Linked DNA regions of Homo sapiens: region 1 is linked to region 2. Evidence: promoter capture Hi-C in 16 types of primary human blood cells and fetal thymus (Javierre and others, 2016). All regions are on one chromosome and are shown on one strand. Each heading gives the region's core, a stretch centred on a gene start or on the middle of the fragment in contact. The rest is flanking DNA. Distances are from core to core; before and after follow the strand shown.

Region 1 (6,365 bases), core at 1,665-4,164, 420 kb before region 2:
CTGTCTAATTTTTTTGTATTTTTAGTAAAGACGGGGGTTCACCATGTTGGCCAGGCTGGTCTCGAACTCCTGACCTCAGGTGATCTGCCTGACTCGGCCTCCCAAAGTGCTGGGATTACAGGCGTGAGCCACCGCGCCCAGCCCTCTTTTGCTTTCTTAAATAGGTCTGCTTCCTTCTAACTACAGGCCCGTTGCACATGCTGTTTCTTCTGCTAATAACACTTTTTCTCTCCTCTTTGCCTGGCAACTACTCATCTTTCATGTTTCAGTTTAACATTTCTCCAGGGAGACTTTCCTGAACCTTCAGGCTACTTTGAACTGTCTGGTATAGCACACTAAACTTCCCACTCCAGAGTTGGCACACTTAAAATTACTCATTCGATATCTCTTGTCGCTGCTAGATTGTAAGCTCCATTAGGGCAGAGACCAAGTCTACCTTATTTGATACTGTAGCCTCAATATCTAGTATAATAGGCATTTCCTTCTGCAGTAAAAGCTTTTGCAACTATGTAGTGTCTGCCATCTGAATCCCATAGCCATTGAACAAATCCATCAGAACCTTGCCTTGAATACTGCACTCAGGTTTAATGCTGTGGGGCTTTTCTGATAAGGTTCTTGTGATAACCAAGGTCTTTTGATCAGTGGCCAAAATGCACACCCGTCCCATCAGATAGCAGCCTGTGAGGCTGGAGCACAGTGCTGCTGTATTATTTGATAATGACTAGAAAAGGCTGGTCCCCTTCTCACCAGCCTTCTGTGATGCTTATGTACCAATGAGAACGTTTGCCCAGCATCTTAGTGGGGATGGCTAAGTTTGGATCCTAGAGAACAGGAACATTTAAAGCTACCTAGATTATTCCTATCTCAGGTCTTTCCTGGGTTTAGTGCACACTTGGGGCATTTCTGGATGGATGGCACATTTGTTTTATTTGTTGGAAGCAGTGAGGTGTAGTCACCAAGTTAACAGGGGTAAGCCTAGGAGTCAGGGCAACACAGTTGCTCAGGCTGGCGTGGCAGGTGTCAGCAGGTAAGCAAGCCCCAGTGGGAGGAACGCATGGCCTCATTCAACAGTGTCAGCAAGCTGAAGTCCCTGCACATTGGGAACCTATGAGAAGAATACCCTCACCCCCCTTTTTTTCAAACCAGTCACATCTCTCTTCACCAAAATCTTTGTGAAATTCATCATCATATAACTTCCTGAATCTAGTTAATGGTGATATTAACCAAAATTTGTAGCTCAACACCCAGGCAACAGTGTATAGGATTGCAAGTGTTAGTTCCAAATATAGTGCAGTTCACATCTCCAGTGAGGGAAGTACATTGAGTGAATTCATTACATGAGCCACTTAAACTAATTGAACCAGGAACTTAAAGTCACGTTCTTCAAATGTGTGCAGTCCACAAAACTGGCATTTAACATCAGGAAGTCAGGCTGGAAAACATTCATGAACCAGTGACTCTAAACAAGGAAGAAACACTTCTCAAGGTATGCATTTGCCAGCTGTTACTTTGTTCACAAGTAGTCTTTGGTGATTAGCTTCGTGACTTAGGACACGGGTGGCAGCTCTGAGCATGGCACATTTAGTTTCATACAGCAAAGACTGAAAACACGTGGCACTGGTTACGTGGTCAGACAAGTGAAGGAGGCACAGCCTATCTTCATTACTAAAAATATTCAAAATGCATAGAGTATAAAAACGTAGAGGAGTTTGTAAGAAGAGAGTCACTTTTTTTTCCTTCAATTTTTGGAAAATGAATACGACATGTATTACATTCATGAAAAATAAAATTTTAAATGAATAGGGGTTAGTGATAAAATGTTCTTAGGTGATCAGCAATTTGTTACAAGATTAGTAAAAATGTAACTTTGTTTTTTGGAGACAGGGTCTCATTTTGTTGCCCAGGCTCTATAGTGCAGTGGCACGAACATGGCTCACTGCCGCCTCCACCTCCTGGACTCAAGTGATCTCCCAACCTCAGTCTTCTAAGCAGTTGGGGCTACAGGTGTGTGCTACCACACTCAGTTAATTTTTTCAATCTTTTGTAGAGACAGAGTCTCACCATGTTGCCCAAGCTATTACTTTCAGTGATACACAAAAAAATACACTTGGATATATGAGGTGTAGCTCAGGGTGGTCCAATAGAACTTTCCTGAGTGATGAATATGATTTATATCTGTGCTGTTCAATACAGTAGCCACTAGCCTTATGTGGCTGCTGCGCAGTTGATTTGTGGCTAGTGCAACCAGGCAACTTTTTTCTTGAGACAGAGTCTTGCCCTGTTACCCAGGCTGGAGTGCAGTGGCATGGAGTGCAATCTCCGCCTCCTGGGCTCAAGCAATTCATCTGCCTCAGCCTCCTTAGTAGTTGGGATTACAGGCATGCGCCTGGTTAATTTTTGTATTTTTAGTAGAGACGGGGTTTCACCATGTTGTCCAGGCTGGTCTTGAACTCAAGTGATCCACCTGCCTTGGCCTCCCAAAGTGCTGGGATTACAGGCATGAGCCAGCCCCAAGCAACTTTTTATTTAATTCTAATTAATTTAAATAGCTGTGAATGGCTAGTAGCTACTGTATTGGTCACATAGGTCTTCCATTTGCTGAGAGTAAGAAATTAAGAGAAGGCCAGGTTTGGTAGCCAAGAGATCTAAGTCATGTACTATTTCGTTGTTTATCCAATAGTCTGTCTACTCTGTTACTGTTATAAGAATGAACTAAGAGGCCAGGCGCAGTGGCTCACGCCTGTAATCCCAGCACTTTGGGAGGCCCAGGTGGGCGGTCAGGAGTTCAAGACCAGCCTGGCCAGCATGGCGAAACCTCATGTCTACTAAAAATACAAAAATTAGCCAGACAGGTGGTGCATGCCTGTAAGCCCAGCTACTTGGGTGGCTGAAGGTGGGAGAATCGCTTGACCCTGGGAGGCGGAGGTTGCAGTGAGCCAAGATCACGCCATTGCACTCCAGCCTGGGCAACAGAGCAAGACTCCATCTCAAAAAAAAAAAAAATGAACTAAGGCGGGGCAAGATGGCTCATGCCTGTAATCCCAGTAACTTGGGATCACGTGAGCCTAGGAGTTCGAGACAAGCCTGGGCAACATGGTGAAACCCCACCTCCACAAAATTAACAAATTAAATTAGTGGGTGTGGTGGCACACACCTCTAGTCCCAGCTACTCAGGAGGCTGAGGTGGGAGGATCCCTTAAGCCCAGAAGTTCAAGGCTGCAGTGAGCCAGGATCGCACCACTGCGCAGTGAGCCAGGATCGCACCACTGCACTCCAGCCTGGGTGACAAAGAGATCATCTCAAGACAAAAAAGAAGAAAACAAAGAACTTCTTTACACTTGTAGAGGGCACAGTATTAACTTCATCCTATCACATCCCTTTACATTCTGACTTACAAGTGCTCTGCTGATAGAAGAGGAAATTGACCTGTTAGAAAAGCAACAGCAATCTCATCCATTCTCATTCATCTCAAATATTTTAAGTGCTTTGTACATTTTCTTGTAAGTTGTTTCCTTCCATCTCCCTTCTATTATTTTGTATGGTGTTCTTGAGACTTCTCCCACTAACCTAATAGCCACTCCACATACTGATTTTTTCTTCTCCTTATTTTTATTACTATTATTTTTGTTTGTTTGAGACAGGGTTTTGCTCTCACCCAGGATGGAGTGCAGTGGTGCCATCCTGACTCACTGTAGCCTCAACTTCCTGGGCTCCAGCGATCCTCTTCCCACCTCAGCCTCCTGAGTAGCTGGGACCACAGGCATATACCACTATGCCTGGCTAATTTTTTTGTATTTTGTATAACGAGACGGGGTTTCGTTATGTTGCCCAGGCTGGTCTTGAACTCCTGAGCTCAAGCAATCCACCCACCTCGGCTTTCCAAAGTGCTGGGATTACAGGCATGAGCCACCCCCCCGGCCCTATTATTGAGACAGGGTCTCACTGTCACCCAGCCTGGAGTGCAGTGGTGTGACCATAGGTCAGTGCAGCCTAAGCCTCCTGAGTAGCTGGGACTACAGGCACATGCCAACATGCCCAGCTAATTTTTTTTCTTTTAGTAGAGATGGAGTTTTACCATGTGGCCAAGGCTGGTCTCAATCTCCTGAGCTCAAGTGATCCTCCCACCTTGGCCTCCCAAAGTGCCGGGATTACAGGTGTGAGCTACCATGCCTGCACCTCCTTAACTATTTTTTATTTTTTTGAGATAGGGTCTTGCCTTGTCACCCAGGCTGGAGTGCAGTGGCATGATCTCGGCTCACTGCAACCTCCTGCTGGGCTCAAGCGATTCTCCTGCCTCAGCCTCCCAGGTAGCTGGGACTACGGGAGCATACCACCACACCCAGCTAATGTTTGTATTTTTTGTAGAGATGGGGTTTCACTATGTTGTCCAGGCTGGTCTCAAACTCCTGGGCTCAAGTGATCCGCCTGCCTCAGCCTCCCAAAGTGCTGGGATTACAGGCGTGAGCCACGGTGCCTGGCCCCCTGCTTAACTTTAAAAGTACAGGCTAATAAACATTAAGGAAGAGAATGTCCAGATGAGTACAAATAATGCAAGGTAATCAGTGCCCTATTAAGAGTTGCCCAGAATTGCAGTGTAACGTAATACACCTGTAAAATTTGTCAAATTGGTGATGAAGGTTAAAGGTGGTTAGAGTAGGGGTAGGGGATGTCTCAGAGGACCATATTGGTACTGTCAGCCAAACCACGGCAAGGATTATTTTTTTCTTCCTGGTAGTCATCTTAATTGATGTATAGTATATCTGCTGTTAGCTGCTACAACCTCCCTGAGAAAGCACAGATCATGACAGTAAACTATGTTCATTCTCTGCCAATTCCTCCCCAGTGTTGGAAACAGAAGCCCAGTAGTGAAAGCTACAGCTGCCATATACTTGCAGTGGAATCACAGGAGCAATCACAGGTCTTTGTAAGTGGCAGTAACAACTCACTTGACTTTCCTTCACCTGACACTGTCACCTATCACAACACTGGCCATCAAACTGGTAGAACAACCAGTCCTCTGATTTGGTTTCCTAGGGAAGGCAGTTGTTCGGCTCAATGTTTTGTTAACATCAAGGCTCTTATTCTTGCATTTGAAACCAAACACCTCAATCATTTTGCTTGCACCAGGGTTGGTACAAGAAGGCACGGTCCTTCTTGGGTGGGTATTTTGCATTGTCACAAATACTCTTATTTAGAGAAAACCAACTCTGAAACCCTAAAACTAGTATCTAGTAAAGGAAGAGATTCAGTTCTATCAAGCAATATATTTTTCAGTCAAGAGTGACGCTGTAAGTATAGATTCAGCAGTATAAACATATTACCAAAAGCTTGGATTTTTATTTATGCATTTTATTTTTGAGATGGAGTTTCGCTCTTGTTGCCCAGGCTGGAGTGCAATGGCGCGATCTCGGCTCACTGTGACCTGCGCCTCCCGGGTTCAAGCAATTCTCCTGCCTCAGCCTCCCAAGTAGCTGGGATTACAGGCATGCGCCACCACACCCGGCTAATTTTTTTTTTTTTTTTTTTTTTTTTAGTAGAGACAGGGTTTCTCCATGTTGGTCAGGCTAGTCTCAAACTCCCGACCTCAGGTGAACTGCCCGCCTGGGCCTCCCAAGTGCTGGGAATACTGGCGTGAGCCACCGCGCCTGGCCTGTTTATTTTAAAATTAATTGTTTTTTTTTGAGAGGGAATCTTGCTCTGTTACCCAGGCTGGAGTGCAGTGGTGCAATCTCAGCTCACTGCAACCTCTGCCTCCTGGGTTCAAGTAGATTCTCTCACCTCAGACTCCCGAGTAGCTGGGATTATAGGCATGCACCACCACACCGACTAATTTTTGTATTTTTAGCAGAGACGGGGTTTCGCCATGTTGGCCAGGCTGGTCTTGATCTCCTGACCTCAGGTAATCCACCTGCCTTGGTAAGTGTTGGGATTACAAGCATGAGCCACTGTGCCCGGCCCACTTGCTTTTATTTAATAACTTGCTAAAAAATAAAAACAAAAAACATTAGCACTTACATGTGGCTCCATGATGTCTTTCTGGTAATTCTGGAAACTTTTTGGGTTATAGAATTTGAAGAATCTATTTAGAGCTATAGAACTCCTCTTAATCCTCCCCAAGTTGTACTCAACAGATTTATTCCTTGCTCCCTAAAACCTATCCTTAGAAATTGCAAGTTGAGAATTCACCCCACCACTGCCCACTGTTCCAAAAAGCTTTACTGAATCTCATTAATGAAAAATAATGTAAAACTCTCCATAGGAGGCATTAACATACTTGTTTCTTCCAAACCTTCTGATTTCCACTAAAATTTGTAACCAAAATATATTAGGAAAAAGTAATTAAGCTTTAATGCTATTGCCTGGCC
Region 2 (7,089 bases), core at 1,248-3,747:
GTTCCAATCCTGGAGCCTCTTCTTCAAGTGCCGTCATTCCTAGTCCTAATTCTGCTGCTGCTTGTGCTGTGCCCATCCTGTCTCATCTCCGAGAACTGACCTCCATTCATGAGGACCCAGATATGGCAGCCATGAGCTGGGGATAGGTTGGGGCAGTGGGGAGTTAACTGGGTTGGAAAGAAAACTAGTTGTGGCTAGGAATAGACTGCCAAAAGTAGGGGGTGGTCAGAAAGTTAAAGGAACCCCCTAGATGGGGTGAAGGATGCTCTGCATTCACTCTCTGAGGAAAAGGCACAGTTTGCCTTACTTTACAATGCTTTAAGAACCAGGAATAAACATGTAAGAGCAATTAATGTAAAAACTTAAAATCTCAATAGACGTGGTCCTAACTACACACACTGGGCTTAAGTTTGCTTCTGTTCTATCTTCGAATCTTTTTTATAATTTATTTATTTATTTGTAGAGACAAGGATCTTGCCATGTTGCCCAGGCTGGACTCAAATGCCTGGCCTCAAATTACCCTCCCGCCTCAGCCTCCCAAAGGGCTGGGATTATAAACATGAATCACCTCATCTGGCTTCTCTTCTGTCTTGGAGTAAAGAACCTTCTAATCAAAGGAACTGGGTAAGTATAACACAATAATAGGGAAAATGTCTCTCATAAAAGATACCTATTTTTTTTCTACTTCAAAGCAACTTCAACAACCCCCATGAAGATGCAGATATGGAAAAGAGGATTGCAACCAGGGGTGCAATTTCTCACGGGTGAGAAATTGAGAGAGGAGAGTGAATGAAAGAAGTGACAGGCCAAGGGAAGGACACCAGTTTGATGCCACTAGGCAGCTGTTGCCCAGACACCAGGGACAAGGCCTGGCAACCCACCCAAAGGCACAGTGCTTTATGGGAACAAATCAGAAATAAAGGCGAGGAGGGATCCTGAAGGGTGAAATAGTCAGCTTTTCCTGCCAGGCTCAGCTTGTAAATGGAGTGATGTATGACCTAGAAAACCTGCAGGTGTTTTCAGGGTCCTACAGTAGCCTCAGTTTCCCCAGAGTGAGCCATAACCAAGCTCAGAAAAGGGACAATTGCCTCCATCTCTTGGCTAAGCAGTTCCTGTCCCTTGCGGGGACTGGGTCTTTGGCATAATACTTGTAGGGTTATCCCGGCTGTGGGTATGAGAGGAATTCTCAGAGGGCAGGGAGGTCATACAATTAGAGCTCTGGGTTTTAATTTCCCTGCCTGCTTGTCACAGAACCTTGTCCTGTGCTCTTATTTTGACCTGATCCCTCACCACCCCCAGCCCTGTCCTAAGGCTGAGATCCCTGGGGGCTCAGCACTCCCAACCTGTTATTAATAGCTCTTCATACCAGTAGCCACTTGACCTTTTCCACTCTGGTGCCAAGGCTTAAAACTGCTCCTCTTCAGAGGTCTCTGGCCCCCTCCCTCTTCAGCCCACCCCTCTCCCACCAGTTCCATTCCTTCAGCAGCTGGGCCAGAGAGCTGGGAGGTCTAAAATGACTGAGTCAGCATGCAGGGCCCACACCAGCTCCAGGGAGAGGAATGTTTTGTGTGAGGAGAGCAGGGTGGGGCAAAGGAACCAGGCCCAGCTTCCTGACCCGGTTGGAGAGAGGGTCTCAGCCCAGGGTGGGCCAGTCCTCTGCATGCTACAGATAGGAACCCAGGCTAAGGCCACAGAAGGAAAGGCCCGTCTGGGTAAGGAAAGAGAGAGAGGAATCCGGGCTCCTCTTACCTTAACCACAACCTCCTTCCCACCCTGCCCTCACCTGCCGTAAGAGTGTTTGTGAGTGAAGCCTTTCCCAAACTGCCATGCACAGGGAGGATATTCCCTGACTGTTTATATCACTTACTCCAAGTTACACTGGCAGCTGCCATGATCTGTCTGTTCTCCATAAAGATATCCCACTACCTCCTAGGAAAAGGCTAGTCTGTTTTACTTTGCTATGGTGGTCCTCATAATGCCTTATAAAAGGGTGGATGGATGGTTGGTTGTACCTCCCCCCATTCCCAACTTAGCTGCACAAATCTAGGGTAGCAGGACAGGGCTCCCTCAAAGCAGCACCTCATTCTTGACGGAAAAGGTTTATGACTCAATCTCCCCCTCATCAGCCCCAACACCCACTCCACTGCCCCATGGGACTGCGATCTGGGGCATGGACACCCTAGTCCTCATCCCAGTCCAGCCCACATAAAGTAGATCGCTAAGCTCCAGAGCAAAAGGACTCTCAATGTCATCCCCACCTCTATCCCAATGGCTGAGCCTCACTTACCTTTACACTCTTGGGGTCAAAGGCAGGTTCCTTGGGAGCCTCAGGAGCTGGGGCAGGGGCTGGTGCAGGGGCTGGAGCTGGAGCTGGAGCTGGCTTGGCTGCCTCCTTCTTAGGCTCAGGCTTCTTGGGAGCCATGTTGTCTTGTTGGGATCTTTGGCAGAGGAGTGATCTAAGAAGAAACCGAGAGACGTGGCGTCTGGGAGATGAGATAGGAGCCTGGGCTGCCTCCCTTCCCTTTTATCCTGGGCAGGAGCCCCCACAGAGGGGCTGGGTGAAAGCAAGAGCAACTGCTGCTGACTATAAAAGGAAGAAACGCCAGCAGGGTACAGCTGACAACTGTGTATTGTCACCAGGTTTGGGGCCACCAGCCCCCTCCCCTTCATGCCACAGCTCTCTCTTCACCTCTAGGACAGGCTGATCCCTTCTTGCCAATTGGTGGAAACCCAGAAGGACCAGGGAAACAGACCTTCTCAAATATGCCGGAGCAGCCAGAGAGATGAGCTGACTTGAGCAGTTGATAAGCCTCACACAAAGCCCAGGGGAGGGTGAGGCTTTTTTTAGCCCCTCCCGAGCAGAGGCAGCCCACTGCACATTCCTTCTAAGCCAAGATCCTTTAAGCTGAGAGCCACTCTGGGCCCTCAGCTCTGCCTAGAGGCCCAACTCTCCAGGCATGGAGCTCTGAAGCAACAGCTGGTCCAGCCAACCCACACTGCCCCACACCCTCCCAACTCACAGGATGAAAGCCTCCATTTTCCAGAGCAGGCATCCCAGGAACTCCACAGACCTCAGATCCCTAGATCTACCCCCTTACACACAACCTCAGTCATTCATTCAACAAGTAGTGAGCACTGAACCCATGCCTAGGCACCTAGGAGAGAAGCAGAGAGATGTGGTAGAAAGTCGAGGAGACTGAGGGTCAGAAAACTTGGGGTTTAGTTTTCACTTTACCTCTAACTCATTCTGTGCTCTGTGTGTGTGTGTGTGTGTGTGTGTGTGTGTGTGTGTGTAGTGCTTACTACTATCAGTACCAGGAACTGTTAAGTGCTATTCATATAAAATCTCATTAAATCTTCACCATGATCCTATAAGGTAGATACTATTTTGTTTGTTTGTTTGTTTTAACAGAAACAAGGTATCGCTCTGTTGCTCAGGTTGCAGTGCAGTGGTGCAATCACAGCTCACTGCAGCCTCGTCTTTCCTGGCTCAAGCGATTCTCCCACCTCAGCCTTCCGAGTAGCTGGGACTACAGGTGCACACCAGCACACTTGGCTAATTTTGGGGGAGTTTTTTTGTTTTTTGTTTTTCAGTAGAGATGAGGTCTTGCTAAATTGCCCAGGTTGGTCTTGAACTCCTGAGCTCAAGGGATCCACTAGCCTCGGTCTTCCAAAGGGCTGGGATTATAGGCATAAGCCGCCACGCCAGGCCAGGTAGATACTATTATTATTTTCACTTTACACATGGGGAGATTGAGACTAAAACTGGATGAACAACTTGGCCAAGGTCACTCAAATAATTAGCTATAAGCTGGGATTAGATGTAGATATGTCTGAGTCTAAAGCCTATGCTTGAATAATGTATATGATAATCCAGTTGTCGGGGAGAGACATACAAGTTTCTGCATTTATTGGAGGAGTCAGGATGGATACACGCTGAACTGTTAACAGAGACACCTCTGGGGACCTAGGGGGTAAGGGTGGGAGGATAACAGCAATTTGCAGTTTTTTACTTTTTTCACTTCCTGTATTAATGGAAATTTTTATAACGAGCATTTACTGTTTATGTAAAAAAAACTTTGAAAGTCAACAAAATAATTCAGAAAAATAACAACAAAAAAGCTTATGTATCCACTACACAAAACTGCTTTGTGCTGAATCTTTAGACTCTACAGTTCAGAGGAAAAGAGGAATAAAGCTGAGAGAGGCAAAAAAATCACTTCGCCTTTCTAGGCCCAGTTTCCTCACCTGTAAAGCAAGATTGCTAGACTACAGAATCCTGGTTGCTGTTAGCTCCTAAGCCTGCAATTCTGGGTGCCCTGGAGCCCACATCTGCCCATTTCCCAGCTCTCTAACTACAGGTTCCATGCCCCAGATCATTGCCTTCAGAGCCAGAAGGACCCTTAGAGATCATCTGGCCCCATGCTGTTTTACAGGCAAGGAATCTAAGGTCCAGGGAAACGTTGAAGTTGCCTCAAGACATTCAGCTACTTATAGGCAGAGCTGGGCCAACTAATTCTGTTTCCTGGGGTGCAGTGCTCTCTGTAGCACACTGCTCTTCACTGCTCCTCCTGTAGCCTATACACGCTCACTGGTGGTGACAGAGAAGCCCTCAAAGGAAACGGGCAGGAAAAAGGGCCAGGACTTGCTCAAGGGAATACTAGAACGAGACCAGGGCCCAGATTCTAGCCCAGCCCTGGTCCTGAGCTGGGATGGTGGCTCCTTTGCTCTGTGCACCTCACCTCCTCCCCTCATCTTCTGCCTCACCTCTCTTCCTTGCCGGCTACCAAACTTGATTCCTTGTACCTTCGCTCGCACTCTTCTATAATCCCTGTCAGTCCTCTCCTTGACCTACCCCATTCCCCACAGGGGTTGGGAGTTCAGGTTGTTGGTGACGAGGAAAGAGAAAAAGTGGAAGCCCAGGCCCTCCTCCTTCTCCACCTCCACCTGCATCCCTTCCTGGACTGCATCCTGCGGAGTTTGTGCAAAAATATACAAACTGGGATTTCTGTAAAGAGCTGCAGGATAGAAGCTGGGAGACCCAGGCACTAGTCCTGACTCTGCCAGCCACTTCCTCTCTCTGGGCCTCAGCTTGCTTATTTTAAAAGGAAAAACAATCAGGAGACTTTCAAACCATGTTCAACAGAATCCTGAGACTAGCAATCTTGCTATCTTGCTTTATAGGGTGACATGCTTCTGGCTGCAGGGTACATAGAAAGGCCAGACCTTGGAGCTCCTTCCACCACCATCACTTCAGTCACCACCACTCCTGTGTTTTACATACTGGAGCTCCCAGTATGTAAAACAGTATCATTTTCTAATGGTTCCATGGCTTAAAATTTTTTTAAATAATCACTGAATGACACATGCCCCCTTCCAGTTAAAACACACACGCACACACAACAAGTTAGTATTATGTTATTGTTGTAGTTATTCTACAAAGACGTATGATCCTCAGAAGAAAAAGCTGGAAGGTTGTTCTTTCCTTTTCTTCTTTTCCTTTTTTCCCCCACCCCACTCCCCTTTCTTTTCTAAATTCTAAGAAGCAAAATATCAGGTCTGCATGGGAACAGAGCTATGAGGTTAGAAAGCTGGGAAAGCCGAATGGGGCTCCGGAGACATCCAAAATCACGCAAATACTGTGGACTCTGGAGGTAGACAGTGATGGGTCTGAAGCCTGGTTTTGCCACTTTCTAATCTAGGCCTTAGTAGCCTCAGGACCTTTGAGGATAAACATTTCCTTTTCAAATTGTCATGAGATTTGTATGAAATAATGTTAAGTAAGGCACTGCAAACAACCTCTGCCATGTAGGAAACATTCGAAGATGTTCATTTCACTTTCCTTTGCCAAGCAGGTTGAAGCTAGAGGTGCATTCAGGCTTCCCAGATTTGGAACTTCCAGAGAGAGGTCCACATGAGAAAGGGACAAGGTAAGGTGACAGTGGCTAAAGGGATTTTAAGGTGTGGGATTAGGAATGAGGAAGAGGTGGAAAGGAATGGAAGCGGGGGGAAGGGCAGCAGCTGGGAACTCATGGTGTAAAATATTTGTGGCTCAGAAAGCATGTGGCAAGTCTCTAGGGCCAGGCAGCCTGTCTGACGGAGAACACTCAGAGAAGGCATGCCCAACCACCTGAAACCTTAGGCACAGGAGCCCCAGCAGGGGAGGAGACGCTCCTCAAATCAGTTTCGGATTCGTTTTCAGCAGCCCCAGTGAAAAAAGTGCCTGGCACTTCAGAAACAACTGGAGGAGAGCTGTGGTTTCAGGGAAAGAGCCATGCATGAAGAAGCAACATATCAACCCCTGGCCTTGTTTTTACTAAAATTCATGACGCCACGCTTCATTAGAGCCCAGTAACTGGAGTCCGAGCTTCCATCGTCTTATGGTCTTCATTCTGTTTCATGGCCAGTAACTTTCACCTTCAAATCTTACCAATCGAGAGCATCCTTCCCAGGGCCTATGACACAGACTTGCCCTACAATATGTGTTGGCCCATCAGAGCCAAGGAAAGAAGGAGATGTAGTAGTGTGAAGAGGCAAGTATGGCAGTGGGTACTGGCAGCCAAACAACTTTCTCTGGGAAGCATCTGGTGGTTTCTGAGCCAGAGTTGCTGAGGCTCACCCAAATGCTCCCATGAGGGACTTCCAATTCAGCAGATTGAAAACACAAGACAGAATTTAGCACCAACCGGTTTACATCAGATGTCAAATTCGGACACAAATGCACAAAGGAGAAGTGACATCAGCCCTCATTTGGGCTGAGCTCGCAAACACTCACTCCTCCTCCTCCCTTCATCTCTAACCACACAGAGCCTGTCTGTGTCCTGCTCAGAGAGGTCCATTAGAGTCTCCTGCCTGGGATCAAATGCTGCTGACAGCTAGCCTGGCTGTTAATGCCTTGTTCCTGTCACCCTCTCTCTCTCTTCTCTGACCAATGTCTCATAAGCCTGGACATCACAGGGCAATGCCCTGGCCAACACTTTGTCAATCGTCCCCATAGAGAGTACTGGGTAATTTGGGTTTCACTGCAAGGCAGAGGTTAAGAAGGCTGACTCATGAATCAGACTGCCTGGTTTAGAGTCCTGGCTTAGT

What was found. Contacts are between HindIII fragments. The CHiCAGO score rates a contact against its expected background, and 5 or more counts as called.
Region 1: a contact is called between a fragment that was not itself captured here and the fragment with the promoter of MYL4 in region 2, in 1 of 17 cell types (erythroblasts). The highest score is 5.2, in erythroblasts.

What each region holds. Positions count from the first base shown.
Region 1 is chr17:47,625,106-47,631,470 of GRCh38, reverse strand. It overlaps KPNB1-DT (KPNB1 divergent transcript), which reads left to right. Exons shown (of 4, transcript NR_171700.1): 3 at 4,844-4,924. Among named protein-coding and RNA genes, the nearest start is that of KPNB1-DT, 21 kb to the left of the region's middle. The HindIII fragment of the contact is 4,831 bases long and covers 499-5,329 here.
Region 2 is chr17:47,204,756-47,211,844 of GRCh38, reverse strand. MYL4 (myosin light chain 4) reads right to left here and starts at 2,497. Exons shown (of 7, transcript NM_002476.2): 1 at 2,288-2,497. The coding sequence starts at 2,422. RefSeq lists enhancers at 6,194-6,293, 7,084-7,089. The HindIII fragment of the contact is 17,980 bases long and covers 1-4,124 here.